6 separate regions of the Homo sapiens genome follow, and all the other regions are linked to region 5. Evidence: promoter capture Hi-C in 16 types of primary human blood cells and fetal thymus (Javierre and others, 2016). All regions are on one chromosome and are shown on one strand. Each heading gives the region's core, a stretch centred on a gene start or on the middle of the fragment in contact. The rest is flanking DNA. Distances are from core to core; before and after follow the strand shown. Region 1 overlaps USP34 (ubiquitin specific peptidase 34). Region 2 overlaps XPO1 (exportin 1). Region 3 has its middle 48 kb from the start of PAPOLG. Region 4 overlaps PAPOLG (poly(A) polymerase gamma). Region 5 holds the start of SANBR (SANT and BTB domain regulator of CSR). Region 6 overlaps USP34 (ubiquitin specific peptidase 34).

Region 1 (2,700 bases), core at 131-2,630, 310 kb after region 5:
GTCATCCAATCTACAGTACTTTGTTACAGCAGCCTGGACTAAGACAGTGTACTTTCTGAAAACTATCAGTACCATATTTTTCAAGACTAAATTCTCCAGTATAAACAGTATGCTTTCATACTGTGACAAATAGTACTATATGTTCGCATACGCTTTTAAAAGAGAGAAATGTGGCCAGACACAGTGGCTCACGCCTGTAATCCCAACACTTTGGGAGACTGAGGCAAGTGGATGGCTTGAGTCTACAAGACTAGACTGAGCAACATGGCAAAACTCTGCCTCTGCAAATATCACAAAAATTAGCCAGGCATGCTGGCATGCGCCTATGGTCCCAGCTATCCGGGAGGCTGAGGTGGGAGGATCACCTGACCCTGGGAACTTGAGGCTGTAGTGAGCCATGGTCCCACCACTGTACTCCACCCTGGGCAACAGAGCAAGACCCTGTCTCAAAAAAAAGAGGGAGAGTGAGTTATGTTACAGACAGCATAATGTTCTGAAAGCTTCATGAAGAACTGTACACAATGTCAAAGGGCAAAGAATTTCTAGTAAAAATTTTAAATCTAAAAATTAGAATTTACCATATAAACAACTGTACATTAAAATGGTATACTTATATATAAATTAATGCTCCTACTTACGTTTCTGTGTCCGATACTAATGATTCATTATTGCACACATCATTGAAGGTATGGAGTTGATTCTATGATTAAAGACAAGAAATTAAGGGTTTTTATTTCCAAAATTATTCTTGCATTTGTCAGCAAATACTAACATGGTAAACTGATTGACATATGTAGATCACAATAACTAGATTAATATTATAAAATCTAAGACATAATCAGAGACACACGCTTCCCAATTACTAAAACTATTTCTGTTATATTAAAATACTAAATAATGGCCAGGCGCAGCGGCTCACACCTGTAATCCCAGCACTTTAGGAGGCCAAGGCAGGTGGATCACCTGAGGTCAGGAGCTCTGAGACCAGCCTTACCAACACAGTAAATCTCCATCTCTATTAAAAATACAAAATTAGCTGGGTATGGTGGCATGCGCCTAAAACGCGAGCTACTCAGAGGCTGAGGCACGAAAATCACTTGAACCCAGGAGGCAGAGGTTGCAGTGAGCCAAGATCGCGCCACTGCACTCCAGCCTGGGCGACAGAGTGAGAGTCCATCTCAAAAAAACGAAAAAAAAAAAAAAAAAAAAAAAACAACACTAAATTCATTCCACAAATAGTATTCTTTATTACACTAAGTGCACTGGAGAAAATAAAGCTGAGTAAGTAAAAAAACACAACAATTTAACGCAAGAGAGCAAGTAATATGTCATTATAGACAAAGTTTCAGGAAAGACTCCCCAGATAAATCCACTCAAGATTTAATTTATCTGGGACAATATCAACAAGTATCTTTTATATTTATGAAACCCGGTACACAAGTAAACTCCACCTATTTCACATTTTCAGTGTGACTACACTACCAAAACAAAACAAAACAAAAACAGTAATGTGGCCAGGTGGGGTGGCTCACGCCTGTAATCCCAACACTTTGGGAGGATGAGGCGGGTGGATCACCTGAGGTCAGGAATTCCAGACCAGCCTGGCCAACACGGTAAAAACCCATCTCTACTAAAAATGCAAAAAATTAGCTGGGTGTTGTGGCGCACACCTGTAGTCCCTGCTACTCAGGAGGCTGAGGCAAGAGCATCGCTTGAACCCAGGAGGTGGAGGTTGCAGTAAGCCGAGATCATGCCATTGCACAACAGAATGGGACTCCATCTCCAAGAAAAACCAAAAAACAAAACAAAACAAAACAAAAACCCAGAAATGTAAAGGAGTAAAGCAAATGGGGACTGCAACAAACCGGAGAAAGCATATTCATTCTGAGGGATAAAGTTAATTACTTAGTTCTAACAGACTGTTGTTATGCAAGAATACAGACCCAAGAATACCAGGCCTTCTTCCAACCCCCTCACCAAGAGAAGCCAAGAATACAGATTTTCATGTTACTTTGTCCTATTTAAAAACAGTATTTAAGACTATTCAAAACAAACATTTAGTAAAATTTGGCCTACGGCCCAATAATCTATGGTTTCTGCCTGGAAAATTAATTAACTGCTTATAAAGCCCTCCAATTATTCCTCTTTCTCAAAACATCTATAAACATAAAAACCTAAATAGTTTAAAAAGACAGAAACAAAATGATGAAAGAGTTGGACCCGGAAATCAAATGGACCCACAGTATAAATCCATATAAATCTAAGCTTCAGACTTATTTAAAATAAGAGAAACACAGAAATTATTTGTGAAGACCATATAAAGTAATCCACATAAAATACTTAGCACAATGCCTAGTATGAAGTGCTCCATAAATAGTGGGTAGTATTATGATAGACCAGAAAACAAATAAACGATGACCAAAAATAAAACAAATACAGCTTACTGTTATCTGACTCAATCCAGCCAACCTCATAGTCAAAGTAGGTGACATAAAGTACTTAAATGCAAGATCTAGGCTTTCTTTATCAAAGCATAATGTTGTATCCAATGGTTCTTTGACTGTGCTCCACATTAAGTCAGCCATGTTACGAGCTGCACTCTGTCGTAACTCCTGATCCGAGAGCTTGCATAAATACCTGAAATGATTCAGAAATAGAAAATACACAAAAATTCATAAAGCATTTTTAAAGACCACTCAG
Region 2 (2,700 bases), core at 179-2,678, 420 kb after region 5:
GTATATGTAAGATGGCAGCAAGCGAGCCCTCAATACTGTCTTTTTATTTTTGAGACGGAGTCTTGCTCTGTCGCCCAGGCTGGAGTGCAGTGGTGCCATCTTGGCTCACTGCAAGCTCCGCCTCCAGGTTCACGCCATTCTCCTGCCTCAGCCTATCGAGTAGCTGGGAGTACAGGCACCTGCCACCACGCCCAGCTAATTTTTTATATTTTTAGTAGAGACGGGGTGTTTCACCGTGTTAGCCAGGATGGTCTTGATTTCCTGACCTCGTGATCCACCCAACTCAGACTAATGTTTTAATCTAATGAATGCTAACTGGTGAGTATTTTCACAAGCAGAAATAACATCAATCAATTACTCTCAGAAAATAAGAAAGACTATGGATTTCTATTATTTTTTTGAAACTGAATCTTGCCATGTTGCCTAAACTGGACTTGAGCTGGGGTGATTCGCCTGCCTTACCCTCCCTGGTGGTTGGGATTACAGGTGCATGCTACAATGCCCAGTAAGATTTTCATGATTCTAAGTAAACTGAGTTATACTTAAAGAGTAACTTCTTGTTCTTTTTTTTTTTTTGAGACGAAGTTTCCCACTTGTGGCCCAGACTGGGGTGCAATGGCGCAATCTTGGCTCACTGTCACCTCCACCTCTGGGGTTCAAGTGATTCTCCTGCCTCAGCCTCCTGACTTCAAGTGATCCACCCGCCTCGGCCTCCCAAAGTGCTGGGATTACAGGCATGAGCCACCGTGAAAAGCCAAGACAAGGAAAATAAACACAATGTTTCATGTGAACAAATATCCCAAACTTTAACATTAATGTTACAAAAGATGATACCCTTTGTATTATTCCCACTGTGCTCCCGACACGTGCTCAAGCTTCTTGTAAATTACAAACATCACAATTCCTTCAATACATCTTACTTTCTGCTTTCAAATTTTAAATACAGTTCTGTTCACATAATACGCATGTTCAGAACCTTTCGATATTTAGGTTAGCCAACTTAAGTATTCCACAAGAATTATATTCAGAACAAGTTTACTGAAAAGTATTTCCTTAACAAGAAACAATACTGAAATTTCAAAACTATGAAAATAACTAGCACACTTGTAAAAAAAAAAACCAAAAAACAAAAAACCAACACTATTCCAAGTAATAGTAGTATTAGAATTTTTTGGACTCTCCCAAGGCTCAATTGAATAACAAGAATGAAACGATACAGTTAAAACCTAAAACTAATTCACAATTTTACAAGTTGAGGCATACGCAGCTGGTTTTTATTACTGAAAATGATTTCCTTTTCTGCAAATCATTTAGGAAAAAGGGTGTAAAAAAGACTTTCAGGCCTTTAATCTGGGAAGCAATCACTTTGCTAAAGAGGTAAAGTAATGACAACTTTGTAGCTCTAGCAATTGTTCTAAAAATCAAGAGGAATGCAAAAACTGCACCGGTACTCCATTAATTAAATCCTCCTAACCTATCTATGGAAACATAAAATGACCCAATTTTCTTAGCTATCTTGTTACATATCACCACCCTTCGCTACTGATTAACAGCAGTTTCTTTTGAAGATGGAATACAGCTATTAGTATATTAACGTAAGGACTACAATAAATAAAATGCCATAAAATAACCACAAAGTTGATATGCTTTAAATTAGCAAAATGCACATAATAGAGTATAGCATATTCCATAAAACACAGCATCAACACTAGAAATCAAAAGCAAAGCATCTCTCACTTACCATCTGTGGATCATTGGATCGGCTCACCCAACCAGATATTAACTTTAAAGTTTCCCTTTTTACAGTTCGCATACTTCTAATCAATGGTTGCTTTGTAACCATTTCACCTACAAAACAGAATCAAATGGAATCTAATTTTACCACTAAACTTATACAGTGGTACTCAGGTGTACATTAGATGCAATTCCATTTTACCATTAAAAAGTTTAAAGCCAAAAGTTCACAAAATTTATTGGGAAAATAAGCTTTAAGACTAATTTTAAAAGGGAAAGGTACACTTAACTGTTTTAAATATGTCTAGGGTCATTTGGGAAATGGGAGGTCTGATTTAAATCTGTAAAAAACATCAAATGTTTGACTTAAGGCAGTAGAAGAGAAGTGGTTTGTTTATACTGCATTGTGTAAGAAATCAGAATCACCTACCATTAGCTTGGATAGCTGCAGAAATATTTTCACTGAGGCACTTGTATACATTAAGCATATCTAAATAAATTCTTCCAAGCTGAATTACAAAGGGGTGTCCAACAGCTTTGCAGGCTCTCACATTTGTTTTCAAAATGCTACCAAGCTGCTTGACTGTTTCAGGATCTTTCAGTATATCCACATTCTTGGAGGAAAAAAAGCAAATTCCATTTATCATATAAGAATTATCCACGGCTGGGAACAGTGGCTCACGCCTGTAATCCCAGCACTCTGAGAGGCCGAGGCGGGCGGATGATGAGTTCAGGAGATCGGGACCATCCTGGATAACACGGTGAAACCCCGTCTCTACTAAAAATACAAAAAAAATAGCCAGGCGTGGTGGCAGCCGCCTGTAGTCCCACCTACTCGGGAGGTTGAGGCAGGAGAACGGCGTGAACGCTAGAGATGGAGTTTGCAGTGAGCCGAGATCGCACCACTGCACTCCAGCCTGGGCGAAAGAGCAAGACTCCGTCTCAAAAAAAAAAAAAGAATTATCC
Region 3 (2,700 bases), core at 64-2,563, 260 kb before region 5:
CTGGCCAAGATGGTGAAGTCCCGTCTCTACTAAAAATACAAAAATTAGCCAGGTGGTAGTGGCATGCACCTGTAATCCCAGCTACTCAGGAGGCTGAGGCAGAATTGCTTGAGCCTGTGAGGCAGAGTTGCTGTGAGCCGAGATCATGCCACTGCACTCCCGCCTGGGCAACAGAGTGAGATCCTGTCTCAAAAAATAAAGAAAAATATATTGGGCCAGGCATGGTGGCTCACTCCTGTAATCCCAGCACTTTGGGAGGCTGAGGCGGGTGGATGGCCTGAGGTCAGGAGTTCAAGATCAGCCTGGCCAACATGGTGAAACTCCGTCTCTACTAAAAATACAAAAATTAGCCAGGTGGTAGTGGCATGCACCTGTAATCCCTGCTACTTGAGAGGCTGAGACAGGAGAATCACTTGAACCCGGGAGGCAGAGGCTGCAGTGAGCCAAGATCGCACAACTGCACTCCAGCCTGGGGGAGACAGAGTGAGACTCCATCTCAAAAAATAAAAATAAAATAATGTACTGCTTTTTAATCCCCTATCCTAAAAACCATCTTTCAAACCATATGATCCAACCAAACTGTTTTAATGGATAGTGTTTAAAAATATATACTTCAGGGCCTTCCTTGCCAATCTTTGATTATTGACATTTTTGGCTTACTGCTGCATAGAGACTTCCATGATACCCTAGCCAGACTCTTACCTTTTCAGTATGTTACTTGTACGTTTGAACGTTTAAATTATTCTGACTTGTGTAATGCTCAGTTTACCTGTTTCCCCTGACAAGATTGTAGGTTTGAGAATAGTGACCTCCGGCCAAGCACAGTGGCTCATGCCCGTAATCCCAGCACTTTGGGAGACCAAGGAAGGAGGATCGCTTGAAGCCAGGAGCTGAAGACCAGCCTGGCCAACATAGTGTCTCTACAAATAAAATTAGCCCAGTGTGGTGGTGCTCACCTGTAGTCCCAGCTACTCAAGAGGCTGAGGTGGACAGACTGCTGGAGCCCAGCAGGTCAAGGCCGCAGTGAGCTATGATCACGCCACTCCACTCCACCCTGGGTGATAGAGTGAGATTCCATGTCTTAAAAAAAAAAAAAAAAAAAAAAAAGAAAGTGAGCTTTATCCAAAAATCTTTATGTAGTGAATACCCAGAAAATATTTAAGAGGAAAACACATGAGTCCTTGTTTGGTTTGAGGGGTAGGATTGTTTTGTTTTTAAATTTAAATAGGATTATCTTAAAGAGAAGCCCAATGAAGGAACTAAGATGCAAGAAGGCAAACAAAACTTCCTGAGGCCATTAAGACACGTTGTCTGTGCCGGGCACAGTGGCTCACACCTGTAATCCCAGCACTGTGGGAGGCTGAGGCAGGCAGGTGCCCAGGCTGTTCCTACCAAGGGGCACCTGCAGGCCCACGTGGAGCCACCGTCAGTACCCCCTTGGCCCCCATCCTGTGCTCCTCGGTGCCCAAAGTCCGGAGGGGCTTAGGCAGCAGGGGGCTGGTGTGTCGGCGCCACTCCGGGCGCACACACACCTGGCCGGGTCGTGACAGCACCCAAGCTCGGCTCCAACTTTGCTCTACCCTGGAGTGGGAGCCGGGAGCAGGGAAAGGCCAAGCAGCGGGAGCAGGCACTTCCGAGCCTGTCGGGGAAGAGGGGCTTCCCAGGTCCCTAAAAGCTAGGGATGCCTGGGTCCGCAGTCGTGACTGGGTGGCTGCAGCTGCACCCAGGAACATCAGGCTCCTGCCCTTCCAATTCAGAAGTGGGCAGGGGTCCCGCCTGTTCCAGGCTCCTGCTGGCTCCATGGCACACGCAGCCCTGGCCGCACCTTCCCTGCTGCAGCCGCTCCAGGTGGGCCACTGCTGCCATCAGTGGCTTGGCTGTGAATGGTCACATAGTCTTTACAAGTAGAGAATAGAGAATATTGAACTAGCCAAAAATTGTAACTATATTCGGAAGAATCGGGGAGGGAGGTAGGACAGGGTGTGAGAGTGAAATCCTCATCTTCAGTGGCAGTGAGTAGTAAATATCTAAGACAAAAATCTAGGATAATATATGCAAGTTATTTAGAAATTTGTAAGTAATCAGTAGGAGAAAAGTCTTAAAATTATGAAAATGTTTGCCTCTAGGGAGCAGATATCAAGAATGAGAAATAGGAAAGTAGATTTTTTTTTTTTTTTTTTTTTTTTTGAGACAGAGTCTCGGTCTGTTGCCCAGGCTGGAGTGCACTGGCACAATCTCAGCTCACTATAACCTCTGTTTCCCAGGTTCAAGTGATTCTCCTGTCTCAGCCTCCTGAGTAGCTGGAATTACAGGCATGTGCCACCATGCCCAACTAATTTTTGTATTTTTAATAGAGACAGAGTTTCGCCATGTTGGCCAGGCTGGTCTCGAACTCCTGACCTCAGGAGATCTGCCCGCCTCGGCCTCCCAAAGTGCCAGGATTACAGACGTGAGCTGCCGCGCCCAGCTGAACTTTTTGACTTTTAAACTAATATATCCACTGTCTAACCAGTAGGGGGTAGGAGAATGTTGCAGACTTTGAAGCCCACAGACCTACGTAGATACCTCAGCTACATCTCTTACCACCTGTGAGACCTTGGACAAATTGCTTAACCTTTGGGTTCAAGGTTACTAATCTGTAAAGTGGAATCTCAACACTTATTTCATATGACAAAAAATGAAGGGTTTAAGAGGCTCTGT
Region 4 (2,700 bases), core at 133-2,632, 290 kb before region 5:
TTCCAGTTCTGAGGAATATTTTTAGAGGGATAATAAATTAGATACTGTAACAGGCATTTTGTGTATCTTACATAATACAGGTCACAAAGTAGAAATACTTACCTGGAATGTAAGACCAGAAACATTTTCACTTTGTCTATTGAGTTAAAATACAAATCGGGAGTAAAGATATTCACATTATTGGTAGTTAGAAAGGATAAAGAAGGGATTACTTCTATGTGGTTAAAATACAAATCGGGAGTAAAGATATTCACATTATTGGTAGTTAGGAAGGATAAAGAAGGGATTACACCTATGTGTTATAATTGTTTTCCTTTTTTGTAGGCTGTAGAAGATGCCTTTGTACCTGTTATAAAATTTGAATTTGATGGTATTGAAGTAAGTGTTTAATATTTTTCTGACTTTACAATTGAACTGTTTAAACTTGTAAGTTTGTTTTCTGAAATCAGGCTTAACATAAATGCATATTTTAAAAAATCAAGTAATCTCTTTTTTTTTTTTTAATGAAGAGATGGGGTCTAACTCTATGGCCAAGGCTGGAGTATAGTGACACAATCATAGCTCACTGCACCTTTGAGCACCTGGGTTGAAGTGATCCTTCCACCTGAGCCTCCTGAGTGGCTAGGATTCCAGGCACACACCACCACACCTGGCTAATTTTTTGTATTTTTAGTAGAGACGGGGTTTCACCGTGTTAGCCAGGATGGTCTCAATCTCCTGACCTCGTGATCCGCCCACCTTGGCCTCCCAAAGTGCTGGGATTACAGGCATGAGCCACCGCGCCTGGCCCATATTTTTAATTTCTAAGAATACTATTTTATTCTTTAAATGTTCCTTTTTATTTTTGTCTGCATTTATTTACAGCCTCCTGACCTTATTTCCTAGATATGACATTTTTATCTGCTTTCTTAGGTCTACTGGGTCTGTTACCACTTGTCCATCTGCTTTCCAGCTTTCATAGCTTTTGTTTGTCACTTTCTGTTCTTTGTCCTAGTGAATTTTGCCTTTAACATCAAAATAATACTAAACACAAAAATAAAATTGAATTTTCGTGGTATTTTAGTGAGGTTTCAAGAGGGAGTGAATGTAAATGTGTGTTGGATCTTCTATCTTTATCTAGAAATTTGCTCATAAGGCTTTGATTTTTTTTTCTGCTTGGCATATATGTTAACATTTAAATGCTTTCATTAATTGAAAGTTTAATTACCTTAACACAACTTTATAGTGATTTTCCCATGTGAGACTGCCTACATAGGCCTATCGAAGCTTTGGTAGAACTTCCCAAACTCATAACCAGAGCTTTTCACATTTTTTGGTGGGATGGGAGAGGATGGATTAAAAGGAGAAAATGTAATTTTTTTCTCTTTTTTCACATCTTTCCAAAGATTGATCTAGTCTTTGCAAGACTGGCAATACAAACCATATCAGATAATTTAGATCTAAGAGACGACTCTCGCCTGAGAAGCCTTGATATAAGGTGTATTCGCAGCTTAAATGGTAAGCTTCTAAAAAGAAATCTCAGATACCTGCTTCAGAACAATTAGAGAAATATAGATATTTTTGCTGAATTGACTATTCAGTTTTGGAGATTGGACTCAGTTTAAAATGTAATTTTCCTTATACAGATAATGTGACCACATTTAAGAATCCTAAAAACCACAAATTTATTTGAAAGGCTGTGTATATTTATATTACTGGTTCTCAAACTTACTGGTCTCAAGACTTCTTTACACTCTTAAGATTTATGGAGGACCCCAAAAAGCTTTTGTTTATGTGGGTTATATCTGTCAATATTTACCATGTTAAAAAATAAAAACTGAGAAATTTAAAAAGTACTTATTCATTTATAAATAATGAACCCATTTTAAATTAATATAAACTTTTGTGTGTGAAGAATGGCTTCTTTTTTTTTTTTAACATTTTGCAAGTCTCTTTAATATTAGGCCTGATAGAAGACAGCTAGATTCTCATTTGTGTCTACAATTGATTGTAATATTTTGTTTTGGTTAACATATAAGAATAAAATCTGGCCGGGCGTGGTGGCCCACGCCTGTAATCCCAGCCCTTTGGGAGGCCAAGGTGAATGGATTACTTGAGCCCAGGAGTTTCCAGACCAGCTAGGATAACATGGTGAAACCCCATCTCTACCAAAAATAAAAAACATTTAGTTGGATGTAGTGGCACTCGCCTGTAGTTCCAGCTACTCAGGAGGCTGAGGTGAGAGGATCACCTGAGCCCCCGAGGTGGAGGCTGCAGTGAGCCGTGATTACGCCACTGCACTCTAGCTTAGGTGACAGAGTGAGACCCTGTCTCAAAAAAAAAAAAAAAAAAGAGGCCAGGCACAGTGGCTTATGCCTCTAATCCCAGCACTTTGGCAGGCCAAGGCAGGCAGATCACCTGAGGTCAGGAGTTTGAGACCAGCCTGGACAACATGGTAAAACCCCATCTCTATTAAAAATAAAAAACTAGCCAAGTGTGGTGGTGCTTACCTGTAATCCCAGCTACTCGGGAGGCTGAGGCAGGAAAATCACTTGAACCCAGAAGGCGGAGGTTGTGGTGAGCTGAGATCATGCCACCACAATCCAGCCAGGGTGACAGAGCGAGTCTCCGTCTCAAAAAAGAAAGAAAAAATCTGTCCTCTTAGTTGGAAAAGGGAGGAGTGTTTTAATAGCCTTTTCAGATAATTATGGATATTCTTCT
Region 5 (2,740 bases), core at 129-2,628:
TGAGGTCAGGAGTTCAAGACCAACATGGTGAAACCCCATCTCTACTAAAAATACAAAAAATTAGCTGGACATGGTGGCATGCGCCTGTAAATCCCAGTTACTCAGGAGGCTGTGGTAGGAGAATCGCTTGAAGGGAGGTGGAGGTTGCAGTGAGCCCAGACGGTGCCACTGCACTCCAGCCTGGGCAACAGAGCAAGACTCCATCTCAAAAAAATAAAAAAAGAATTTACCTGACTTAACCTAACATCTTATGATACGACACTTGCCTAACTTTATTTTTATTTTTATTTTTGACAGGGTCTCACTCTGTTGCCCAGCTTGGAGTGCAGTGGTGCAAACATAGCTCATTGGGGCCACCACGCCCAGCTAACTTAAAAAAAAAACAACTTTTTTTTTTTTTTGGTAGAGACAGGGTTTCACTTTGTTGTTCAGGCTGTGCTCAAGCAATCCTCTCGTCTTGGTCTCCCTAAATGCTGGGATTATGGGATTACAGGTGTGAGCCACCGCACCCAGCCACTTTAATGTCTTTGTGGAACAAAAATCGTAAAAGATCTGCAGAAAGTCACAGGATGATACAATTGGTAAAAACTCCTGACATTCTGTACAGTGAACCACTTAATCTCTACTTAATCATCAGATCTCGTAGTAATTATTCATTTGGTTAAGGCTTTACTTTTTCTGTTCTTTCTAATCCTAACATTTAATTTTGGTTCTCAGAATAGACCAAGTGGAAATTAGATAGAAATGTTGACATGTAGCAGTTACCCTACAATATTGAGCCGTTTGCATTTTACTAGATGCCCAATAGTAGTGTTCCTCACAATAACACACACACACACACACACACACACACACACACACCCTATTAATGTATGAAAACCGAATTTGTAATCCAGAGCTATTTACATTTTTAAAGAGCTACCTCCTGGTAAAGACACTTCAGGTCCTTACCCAAAGACCTTGGTCTAAAAGATACTTTCGGTGTCCCTCATCATGCGATCTTTCCGCTCTACCTAAGCGGTGTACCAAATGATCTGCACCAAGAACAATTTCATCCATTCTTTAATCTTTTATCTCCTGTATATCCCCCTTTCTTCTGGACTCAGGGTTGGTCACCTAAGATCAGGCTCCTAGGATCTGGTTGCTAAGAGACAAGACGCTGGGAGGGTGGGGACGCTGCACTGCGACAAGCCTGGGAGTGTATGCCAGAGGAGGAAGGAGAAGCAGCAGGCAAGGCAAGGCGACAGTCAGCCGCCGCCGCCCCTCCGGTGCCCTCCCGCCCGGCAGGGGCTCGGCGCTCATTGGCTCCGCCGCTGCGGCGCTGGCCCGCGATTGGCCGGGCGGCGTCGGCTCGGCGGCTCCCCCACCCCTCGGCGCTAGTCTCCGCAGCCGCCTGCAAGCGGGCGGGGGCGGGGTGTGAGGCGCTGCGGACGGGGTTGCGGGCTCGGTAGCGGCAGCTTCAGGGCGCGAGCGCGGGCGGTGCCGACCACTGCAGGTAACAGAGGCGCTGCGAGGGCAGCCGCGGCCCTGTGGAGGTGAGCGAGACGCCGAGGGGGCTCGGGTGCCCACCGCGGGGCGGGAAGTGCGGCATGGGGCGGTACCGCTCACAGCCAGCCGGCTCCCGCCGCGGCTTCCCACCCCGGGCGGGGTCCCACTTGCCCAAACGCCCCCGAACGCCCCCGTGCACAGCCTCAGCCGGCCGCGCCTCGAGCAGCCAGCTGGCCCGCGTCCCGTCACCCGCCCGGTCCATGTCCCTGCAGACCGTCCCGCCCGCGCACAGCGGCGGGAACCCCAGCTTCTGCGCGCCCGGCCGCGCCCCGGGCCTCTGCCCCGCCTCGCTCCCGCTGCCCGGCGCCTTTGTCCGCTCTGCGCCCCTGGAGTTTCTGTGCCTCCACGGGCGGGAGCGGGGCGCGAAGGTCTGGGGGTGCCCCGAGGACGCGCCGCGTAGTGAGCCTCCGGGCCCAAGGTTTGACTGGCTTTGACCTCATGCCGGTTCTGGGATGTGATTTTACTTTCTCCTCCAGCTGACTCCGATCTCCTGTGTGTGCAGAAGTCAGGAAGCCTGGGTACAAGGCTTCTTCCCGGTCCGGGATGACTCGGTGTTACCGCCGCCCTCTGTTAGGCCAGAGGCCTTTGACCTGCCTGCCTGCCTGCCCCACGGGGCCCCCTCTCTTCCCATCTTTCCACTGGCTAAGGGAAAACGTCTCTGTCTCCAAGAGCTTTTTTTTCTATTTGAAATAAGAAAAAAATATATCAGATTCCTGTTGTAGACCTCTATCTGGTGTGGAAGTGACTTAGACTAGTCTTCTTAATTAATACATGTATATTAAATACATAAACCAAGAGAAGGGGGTCGGGGAGGGGAGGGGAAGTATGTTCTTAAAAAATGAAGTCTGTTAAACATATTGGATTTTTATTTTTGGTAAATAACGTATTTTACCTTAAATATTGTCAAGATTTTGATATTTTATGAATGGGAGTGGATTTCATAGTAATTTGAACTTTGAGCTTTTTCTTGTCACCGTTTTTGATAAATTTATACTTTCCTGAATGAGGTGCACTATAACAGCTATTTCGAGATAATTTATGTTTTATTAAGGATTATCCATCAATGCTATGCCTTTTATACTTAAATTCAGACTCTGATTTCTTGGACATTCATTTAACTAGAATTAATGCTGGGGGGTCTTCCCTTGCCTAGTACAGTTGTATAAAGAGAAAGTCAACAGAAAAACTTTTT
Region 6 (2,700 bases), core at 88-2,587, 290 kb after region 5:
GAAGATCTCTTGATTCCAATGGAATTAATTTACATGTCATAATACAAAAATAAGTTAAATAGTAAATTAAAATACAAATAAGACAATAAATTACGCTTAGGAGAAAAAAGTAAATTATCACAGGTGTGCCAGATTTGTTATTAAATCTTTATAAAGTATTTATATAATGCTTTTATTTTACTGGAGTACACAACAGAAACCCTTATAAAGATCTATAAAATAATAAACCATGAGATACAAAGACTTCTTTGTTATAATAAACACAAACATGTAAATTCATGAGGGACAATATTTATGAAGATATAAACACTAAATATTATGTCATGTAAAATAAAAGTATTTTACAGCCATGAAGCTGCTAACTACTAAATCAAGATAGGGTAATAAACAGAAGATTAGACAAGTAATTCCCAATTTGAGGGCTGTCAAATGCAAAGTTTCCTACTTTTAATACATAAAAAAATCTATTAAAATATAGATTTTACTCAAAAATACTGATTTTTATATTTTGTAGGCATACACATATGAATTCTCTTCTGCTGCTTCTCTTTCAGGGTAAATATGCACAACCTAATACTGAAATATAAGGTGAAATACATGTAAGAAAACATAATACTGCAGGAATTCTTCTATCTTGGTGAGGCTTCTTATAAATTACACTATCTGCTTCTACTGCTATTTACTTTAACACCACTAAGTATCCATTTAAAAAACAATGGCAGTACTTCAATACTACAAACAGTATTTGATTTTAAGGACAAGTGAATACTCAGTAAGTTTACCACTTTTACAGGTCTTGACTAAGAATGTTAATTTAAATATAGTATTAAATAACATTACAGATTAAAATATGCAAGTTAAGTATCCCCTATCTGAAATGCTTGGAAGCAGAAGTGTTTCAGGTTTTGGATTTTTCCACACTTTGGAGTATCTGCATTATATACTTACCAGTTGAAGATCTCTAATTCAATAATCCAAAATCTTAAATGTTCCAATGAGTACTTCTTTGAGCACCATGTTGGCACTCAGATCTCAAACTTTGTAGCAGTTCAAATTTTAGAGTTTTGGATTAGGAATTCTCAATTTGTACTAACAGTTTTCTCTACTTTTTGCCAACAAGTAACTCTTACATGGTTTTTCTACTTAAAATATGATAAAAACACATATATACATGTTTATATATATAGTATATGTATATACTAAACTATACACTATATGTAATACATAATAAACTTCCAATTTTCTGCCAATTTAACCATTAATATAATGAAATTTCCATAATATACTTAATTTTGATAATTAAGTATATTATTGAAACCTTGTTGGGGTTTCTAGGGTATTAATCTGCCACTTGGTTATTTTTGTTTTGTTTTATACAGATGAAGTCTCATGATATTGCCCAGTCTAATTTTAAAACGCCTAAGCTCAAGTGATCCTCTTGCCTCAGCCTCGCAAAGTGCTGAAATTACAGGAATGAGCCACTGAGCTTATTTTTAAGTAACAAGACCCTTGAGAAAAAAAATCATAAAATCCTGTAACTGAGATTAAAAAAAAAAAAAACCCACTCTTTCAAATGTGTACATTATTTAATTCCACAGTACACAAAAAATATTATTAAGAATGCGTGGTGGTGGCAGCAGCAGAGGAGGAGGAAGAGGACAAAGAGGAGGAGGACAAGGAGGATGAAGAAACAAAGATGACGAAGAGGACAAAGACGATGAAAACAAAGACGATGAAGACGAAAAAGAAAAGGATATCAGGGAAGATGGGAGAACAGAAAACGCCAGGAATCCATTACTATACCAAGACAAAAAATGTACTAGCCGAATCAGATGTAAGTATCCTGAAACTCTAGAGTCAATCTGAACTTCTACACTTAACAATTTCAGCCTCCAATGCCATAGCTGCTACTGCTACCCATTTCTGACACGCACACTCCCAACCTGCCCATGCAATGACAGGCAGCTACGGAGACAACAATACAGGTTTCTGGTACAGCTTCTGGAGACAGGTGGGCAGTAAGGACCACGTCCCTGAACATCAAGATTCTCTGTTCCGACAGCTAGCTGATTGCTAATTCTGACTGGTGAGGTACAGGCACAGAGGCTGGCTGCCATTGTTTCAACACAAACCATCTGAAATGATTACTAGAGGTCTTAGAGTTGTACTTTTTTTTTGCGGAACAAAACAAAAAAGGAAAGAACAAAAAGTCCACAGAAAATATACCTGAAGTCCACCTGTTGCACTTCCTAGACGAATGTTTTTTTTTTTTTTTTTGAGACAGTCTTGCTCTGTCACCCAGGCTGGAGTGCAGTGGTGCGATCTCAGCTCACTGCCACGTGTGCCTCCCAGGTTCAAGTGATTCTCATGCCTCAGCCTCCCAAGTAGCTGGGACCACAGGTGTGTGCCACCACACCCAGCTAGTTTTGTTTTTGTTTTTGTTTTTTTTGTTTAGTTGGGTTTTTTTTGTATTTTTAGTGAAGACAGGGTTTCGCCATGTTGGCCAGGCTGGTCTTAAACTTCTGACCTCAAGTGATCCACCTGCCTCGGCCTCCCAAAGTGCTAGGATTACAGGTGTGACTCACCACTCAGCCACTAGACAAAGATTTTAAAAAACTTTATCTCAAAGATAGTAAGAGTAAAGACAGGAAAACAATGCATGAACAAAATGAGAATATCAGCAAAGGGACAGAAATTATA

What was found. The method cuts DNA at HindIII sites, captures the fragments that hold promoters and counts their contacts. A CHiCAGO score of 5 or more calls a contact.
Region 1: a fragment that was not itself captured here is called in contact with the fragment with the promoter of SANBR in region 5 in 2 of 17 cell types (M2 macrophages and M1 macrophages); the score reaches 6.7 in M2 macrophages.
Region 2: a fragment that was not itself captured here is called in contact with the fragment with the promoter of SANBR in region 5 in 2 of 17 cell types (M2 macrophages and non-activated CD4 T cells); the score reaches 7.8 in M2 macrophages.
Region 3: a fragment that was not itself captured here is called in contact with the fragment with the promoter of SANBR in region 5 in 1 of 17 cell types (naive B cells); the score reaches 5.3 in naive B cells.
Region 4: a contact is called between a fragment that was not itself captured here and the fragment with the promoter of SANBR in region 5, in 10 of 17 cell types (activated CD4 T cells, naive CD4 T cells, total B cells and 7 more). The highest score is 8.2, in activated CD4 T cells.
Region 6: a contact is called between a fragment that was not itself captured here and the fragment with the promoter of SANBR in region 5, in 1 of 17 cell types (M2 macrophages). The highest score is 5.3, in M2 macrophages.

Annotation. Positions count from the first base shown.
Region 1 is chr2:61,377,725-61,380,424 of GRCh38, forward strand. USP34 (ubiquitin specific peptidase 34) reads right to left here. Exons shown (of 80, transcript NM_014709.4): 7 at 2,445-2,637; 8 at 639-700. Among named protein-coding and RNA genes, the nearest start is that of SNORA70B, 38 kb to the right of the region's middle. The HindIII fragment of the contact is 1,765 bases long and covers 499-2,263 here.
Region 2 is chr2:61,486,424-61,489,123 of GRCh38, forward strand. It overlaps XPO1 (exportin 1), which reads right to left. Exons shown (of 25, transcript NM_003400.4): 18 at 2,165-2,348; 19 at 1,742-1,848. Among named protein-coding and RNA genes, the nearest start is that of USP34-DT, 17 kb to the left of the region's middle. The HindIII fragment of the contact is 1,111 bases long and covers 874-1,984 here.
Region 3 is chr2:60,803,048-60,805,747 of GRCh38, forward strand. No RefSeq gene overlaps it. Among named protein-coding and RNA genes, the nearest start is that of PAPOLG, 48 kb to the left of the region's middle. The HindIII fragment of the contact is 5,100 bases long and covers 1-2,700 here.
Region 4 is chr2:60,770,134-60,772,833 of GRCh38, forward strand. It overlaps PAPOLG (poly(A) polymerase gamma), which reads left to right. Exons shown (of 22, transcript NM_022894.4): 6 at 325-378; 7 at 1,386-1,497. Among named protein-coding and RNA genes, the nearest start is that of PAPOLG, 15 kb to the left of the region's middle. The HindIII fragment of the contact is 236 bases long and covers 1,265-1,500 here.
Region 5 is chr2:61,064,493-61,067,232 of GRCh38, forward strand. SANBR (SANT and BTB domain regulator of CSR) reads left to right here and starts at 1,379. Exons shown (of 22, transcript NM_001129993.3): 1 at 1,379-1,535. RefSeq lists silencers at 1,159-1,528, 1,559-1,908, 1,919-1,978 and enhancers at 1,268-1,769, 1,770-2,269. The HindIII fragment of the contact is 4,406 bases long and covers 1-2,740 here.
Region 6 is chr2:61,351,135-61,353,834 of GRCh38, forward strand. All of the region lies in intron 10 of USP34 (ubiquitin specific peptidase 34), which reads right to left. Among named protein-coding and RNA genes, the nearest start is that of SNORA70B, 65 kb to the right of the region's middle. The HindIII fragment of the contact is 4,932 bases long and covers 1-2,700 here.